Linked DNA regions of Homo sapiens: region 2 is linked to region 1. The links are contacts of gene promoters, found by promoter capture Hi-C in human tissues and cell types (Jung and others, 2019). All regions are on one chromosome and are shown on one strand. Each heading gives the region's core, a stretch centred on a gene start or on the middle of the fragment in contact. The rest is flanking DNA. Distances are from core to core; before and after follow the strand shown.

The links. Contacts are between HindIII fragments. The study calls those that stand out against the background at their distance.
Region 2: the fragment with the promoter of GIPC3 here is called in contact with the fragment with the promoter of NCLN in region 1 in 1 of the 25 tissues and cell types used here (mesenchymal stem cells).

What each region holds. Positions count from the first base shown.
Region 1 is chr19:3,184,551-3,187,404 of GRCh38, forward strand. NCLN (nicalin) reads left to right here and starts at 1,380. Exons shown (of 15, transcript NM_020170.4): 1 at 1,380-1,664. The coding sequence starts at 1,481. RefSeq lists enhancers at 458-1,340, 647-786 and a silencer at 1,297-1,866. The HindIII fragment of the contact is 11,170 bases long and covers 1-2,854 here.
Region 2 is chr19:3,584,064-3,586,917 of GRCh38, forward strand. GIPC3 (GIPC PDZ domain containing family member 3) reads left to right here and starts at 1,415. Exons shown (of 6, transcript NM_133261.3): 1 at 1,415-1,759; 2 at 2,432-2,617; 3 at 2,751-2,854. The coding sequence starts at 1,535. The HindIII fragment of the contact is 10,668 bases long and covers 1-2,854 here.

The DNA.
Region 1 (2,854 bases), core at 130-2,629:
CCAGCACCCACCACACGGCTGGCACACAGTAGGTGCTCAGTGACCCAGCAGCACACTCAGAAACTCCCTTTCTAGCCGGGCGCGGTAGCTCACGCCTGTAATTTACAGCTACTCAGGAGGCTGAGACACAGGAATTGCTTGAACCCAGGAGGTGGAGGTTGCGGTGAGCTGAGATCAAGCCACTGCACTCCAGCCTAGGTGACAGAGACTACATCTCAAAAACAAACAAACAAACAAACAAACAAACAGAATTCTCACATGCTGCTGGCAGGGAGAGTGCTTGATTCTTTATCATTATATCTGAGGAAACTGAGACTCTGAGAGGTGAAGCGACTTGCCCAAAGCCACACAGCTGGGAAATGGAGGAGTTGGGATTTGAGCCCAGGCTCTTAATCGGCACCAATGCCACTTCTCACTTGGGACAGAAAGGAAGCCCTGACTCCTTAGGCAGCTGTACGGAGCCTGGGATGATAACGTGCTGAGAGCCAGGGCTACTGTCTGCTGCACCCTGGGGCTCAGTCTCCCCATCTGTACAAAGGGACGTTCCTTAGGTACCTCCAGCCCTGAGACACTGGGTTTTAACTTTAAATTTCTGATGAACAACAAATACTTTTTTAGTATAAGTATGCCCCAAATATGAATAAAGATAAATATAAATACCTGCCACCGACCCCTGCACAAACCGCAGGTTCCAGACTACAAGTCCCACAACCCACTGCGGCCTCCCTTAGGAACTGACTATCATGACTTTCTATTTTTCATTCATTCATTCAAAAATGGTATAGGCCACCCGCCGTGCGCCAGGTCTTGTGCTAGATGCCGGGGATACATCATATGCACAAAACAGACAAAAGTTTTTGCCTTCGTGGAGTTTGACATCTACATCCTCGGGAGTTTTAAGTGATTTTTGTTTTTCTCAGCAATTTCTGCCAGGACGACTACAGTTCCCGTGACCCTTTGTGTGTTTGACGGGACTACAACTCCCAGAAGACCTAGCGCGCCAGGCAGGCACTTCCTTTTCTCTTTATCCCCAACTTCCTTCCAGGTCGCAAGGTCACGTCCTGTCCCCACCTTTCGCCCCTCACCCTAGCTCCCCCAACGCCAAAGACAAGGTTAAGAAAGTGATATCGCGAAATAGTTTTTTAAAGCATTTTATTGCATTTTATGACTTGGAGTTTATGTGAAACCTCAACGGTATTAGCCGAACAGCCTGCCGCACCTTCCGGGAGTTCCAGAGTGGGCCTACAACTCCCACAGGGCTCCGCGAGCGCCGGACGGACGGACTACAATTCCCGACAGGCAGCGCGGCTGGCGGGGCGGTTCGCCGCGGTGCCCACAGGACCTCAGGGCGAGTGCGGGCTGCCCCGCGCGGCGCCCGCAGGACCCCGGCGGCTACCCATGCCGAGGTGAGTCCGCGGGAGCCGCCGCCGCCGCCGTCCCGTCCCAGCTGCCGCCCCGCGCGGCCCCGCCGCCGGCCAGGATGCTGGAGGAAGCGGGCGAGGTGCTGGAGAACATGCTGAAGGCGTCTTGTCTGCCGCTCGGCTTCATCGTCTTCCTGCCCGCTGTGCTGCTGCTGGTGGCGCCGCCGCTGCCTGCCGCCGACGCCGCGCACGAGTTCACCGTGTACCGCATGCAGCAGTACGACCTGCAGGGCCAGCCCTACGGTGCGTGTCCCCGGCCCACCCTCGGGGCTCCCCGGGCTCCCCGGCCACGCCACTCCGGCCCGGCGATCCCCAGGCCGATCCCTAGCTCCGGCCTGGGCTGCCCGACCCATGCTCAGGCCCCAGGCGAGGCAGAGCCCTGCCGCCCTGGACCCCCGGGCGCCCTGGAATCCCTGCTCTCCTTGCCTAGCGCCCAGGGACCCCCCGCGCTCGCTCCCACAGCCCCCGGCCCCTGCCTAGGTCTCCCTGCCCCGGAACCCATGGCCGGGCCAAGCGTCCCGCGTCCCTGGAGCCCTAAGTCCCCTCTCTCCTGTCCCCAGCTGGGCCGGCGTCTGCCTGCCTTGCCGAGTTTCTCCCTCCTGGGCCCCCTCCGCCCCTTAGGCTTCCTGGTCCGGGCTCACTTGAGCAGACGCTCCCGTCCTGACCTCCAGCTCCCAGGGTCCTGTTCTGGAGACCATCTGGTTGGTCTCTGGATTCACTGGGTCACGTCCGTGTTCCCAGGCCTCTCGCCTTTAGCTGACTGCGTTTGGAGTTAAAGGTCCCTGCACTGATTTCTGCCAGGCTGAGCCACCCGACGCGGTGGTCCAGCATTCCCCACCCCCTCCCACGGCCCTGGGTGCCAAGTGCATTTTGTCCAGTGCCCAAATTCAACTCCCCTGAATTTTCTCGCTCTAGTCACCGGCCCCCACGTCAAGGGCACATTTGTCCCCAGACCCCTGACGCTCTCTGGTCCCAGTTCGTGAGTCATGTTTCAGAATCTGCTAGCCCAGCTTCCCTGGTCTCCTCCCACGTCCCCAGTTCAGTCCACTCGCCTGGGGTTCCCTTTGACCCCCTTTCTGTCCCGCCTTTGATGCATACCCACGCCCTCAGCTCAGCCTCCTCACACCCACTTCCCAGAACCCCACTTGTTCCATCTTTCCAGGATTTCCTCTTCCCTTTCCAAATTCGCACCCCCTTGCCCTTGCATTCTGCAAGTCTCCCACTCAACAGCCTCGCCCCCTCCCGTCGTGGCCCTGACCCCAGTGTCTAGACCATTCCACATCCCCTTGTCTTTGCCTGGCTATAGCTGTCCCTGACATTCCAGAACCTGGTCCCTGGTTTTTCTTCTTTTCAGCCTGGCCCCTCAGGTCCCTGGAAGTCAAGGCCTGGCCTTCCCTGTGAAGGAGTCCCGTCCGCTTGTTCTCCTGGCCCCC
Region 2 (2,854 bases), core at 165-2,664, 400 kb after region 1:
AAGAGAGAGAGACTCCGTCTCAAAAAATAAAATAAAATAAAATATCTGATATGTCAGATGGTAGCTTTAAATGCTGAAGAGAAGCTGGGCACAGTGGCTCACATCTGTAATCCTAGCACTTTGGGAGGCCAAGGCTGAAGGATGGCCTGAACCTCCTGGTCTTGAGTTTGAGACCAGCCTGGGCAACACAGTGAGATCCCAACTGTACAAAAAATTAATCATGTTTCTAAATTAAATTTTAAAAAACTGAATGCGGCCGGGTGCGGTGGTTCACGCCTGTAATCCCAGCACTTTGGGAGGCCAAGGCAGGTGGATCACCTGAGGTCAGGGGTTCGAGACAAGCCTGACCAACATGGTGAAACCCTGTCTCTACTAAAAAATACAAAAATTAGCCAGGCATGGTGGTGTGCGCCTATAATCCCAGCTACTAGGGGGGCTGAGGCAGGAGAATCGCTTGAACCCAGGAGGTGGAGGTTGCAGTGAGCCGAGATCACGCCATTGCACTCCAGCCTGGGCGACAGAGCTAGACTCCGTCTCCAAAATCAAACAAACAAACCAAAGGCTGGGCGTGGTGGCTCATGCCTGTAATCCCAGCTTTTTTGGAGGCTAAGGTGGGTGGATTCCTGAGGTCAGGAGTTCAAGACCATCCTGGCCAACATGGTGAAACCTCATCTCTATTAAAAATACAAAAAAATTAGCCGGGCATGGTGGTATATGCCTGTAATCCCAGCTACTGGGGAGGCCGAGGCATGAGAATTGCTTGAACCTGGTGGGCAGAGGTTGCAGTGAGCTGAGATCGTGCCACTGAACTCCAAACTGGGTGACAGAGCGAGACTCCAGCTCAAAATAAATAAATAAATAAAAATAATAAAATAAAATAAAACAATGACCTCGCCTAGCAGAGGGTGAGTGCTCCAGCACCCTCAGCTGTCCCTGTCCTTTTTTTTTTTTTTTTTTTTTTTTTTGCGACGGAGTCTCGCTTTGTTGCCCAGGCTGGAGTGTAATGGCGCCATCTCAGCTCACTGCCACCTCCGCCTCCCGGGTTCAAGAGATCTCAGCCTCCCGAGTAGCTGGGATTACAGGCGCCCGCCACCACGTCCGGCTGATTTTTGTATTTTTGGTAGAGACGGGGTTTCACCATGTTGGCCAGGCTAGTCTTGAACTCCTGACCTCAGGTCATCTGCCCGCTTCGGCCTCCCAAAGTGCTGGAATTACAGACGTGAGCCACCGCTCCAGGCCTGTCCCTGTCCTTATTTGTGGTCCCTGTTCTTCCAGGGTCCTGAGCTCAGGCCCCCCCGGACTGCGGGTATCCCCGGGGAGGGCACAGCTGGCCCTGGCAGGGCCCGGACACCTGGGGCCCGACCCACCCCTGCGCACCCCGCGGTGTCGCCTTCCCGGGAGGCTCGGGTTCCCAGATCCCCTTACCCGGGCGTCTCGGCTGTCGCGCCCTGGGCCGGGGGAGGGGAGGCTGCAGGAAGCGGCGGATCCGGCGGCGGCGGCGAGGGCCCGGGTGGGTGGCCGAACTTCTCCCGCCATGGAGGGAGCAGCGGCCCGGGAGGCCCGGGGGACCGAGACCCCGCGCGCGTCTGCGCCCCCGCCCGCGCCCTCGGAGCCCCCGGCCGCGCCCCGCGCCCGCCCGCGCCTCGTCTTCCGCACGCAGCTGGCGCACGGGAGCCCCACGGGCAAGATCGAGGGCTTCACCAACGTCCGCGAGCTGTACGCCAAGATCGCCGAAGCCTTCGGGATCGCGCCCACCGAGGTAAGGAGCCCGGACACCGGCGCCCAAGACCACCCGCCTGATGGGGTGAGGGGTAGGGAGCTTGGACCCTGGACGGGAGACCCCAGATCCCCGGATCCCAGACGTCGGGGTGGCCGCCTAATCGCCGGATCTCAGAGACCCAGCCCTCAGATCCCGGGGTGCCACACTCCCAGGGGCCCCCTTTGCACGCTCTGCGCAAAAGATGGGCAGGTCTTAGGACTAGCGGACCCCTAGATATTCCAGAAAATCCTCTGCGCAGACCTAGCTTGGAGCGGACCCCAGCCCTCGGGGAAGCGCCTCTGTGCTTCCTGGGCGTAGCTGGGGTCTGGGGTTCCAGATGGCCCCCTTAGGGATGGGAAGTTTGAGGCCGCCGTGGGGTTGGGGGGTTCCTGGGCGTTTTTCCAATCCGGGTTCGTTTGGTTTGCAGCCCCCAGGGGGCGCCAGCAGATTAAACCTGGAGGTCTGGGGGCTGGAGGTCCCGGGGTATGGAGAGGGGTCTCCACCTGCTGGAAGTCTCCTTCTCCCTCCTCTCTCTGTTCTGGGGGTCCCACGCCCTGCCCTTTCCCATGGGCTGGGATCCTGGTCGCTGGGGGCAGGGGCCTGCGCAGACAGGGTGGCTGCGTGGGGGGATGCATGCCCTGGCTAACTCTAGGCTCCTTCTCCCCCGGGAAGATTTTATTCTGCACCCTCAACAGCCACAAAGTGGACATGCAGAAGCTCCTGGGGGGTCAGATAGGCCTGGAGGACTTCATCTTTGCCCACGTGCGAGGCGAGACCAAGGAGGTGGAGGTCACTAAGACAGAGGATGCTCTGGGGCTGACCATCACGGACAACGGGGCTGGCTACGCCTTCATCAAGGTGCCCGGGAGGGGGTGGGCGGGTGGCTTCCTGGGGTCCAGCAACTGCCCCCCCCACTCTGGGTCGACGTGGGTTCTGCGGATTGGAGGCGGGTGGCTGGGGTTGCCCTGCCAGCGACGCTGGATCCCTGCAGAGAATCAAGGAAGGCAGTATCATCAACCGGATCGAGGCAGTGTGCGTGGGTGACAGCATCGAAGCCATCAACGACCACTCCATTGTGGGCTGCCGCCACTACGA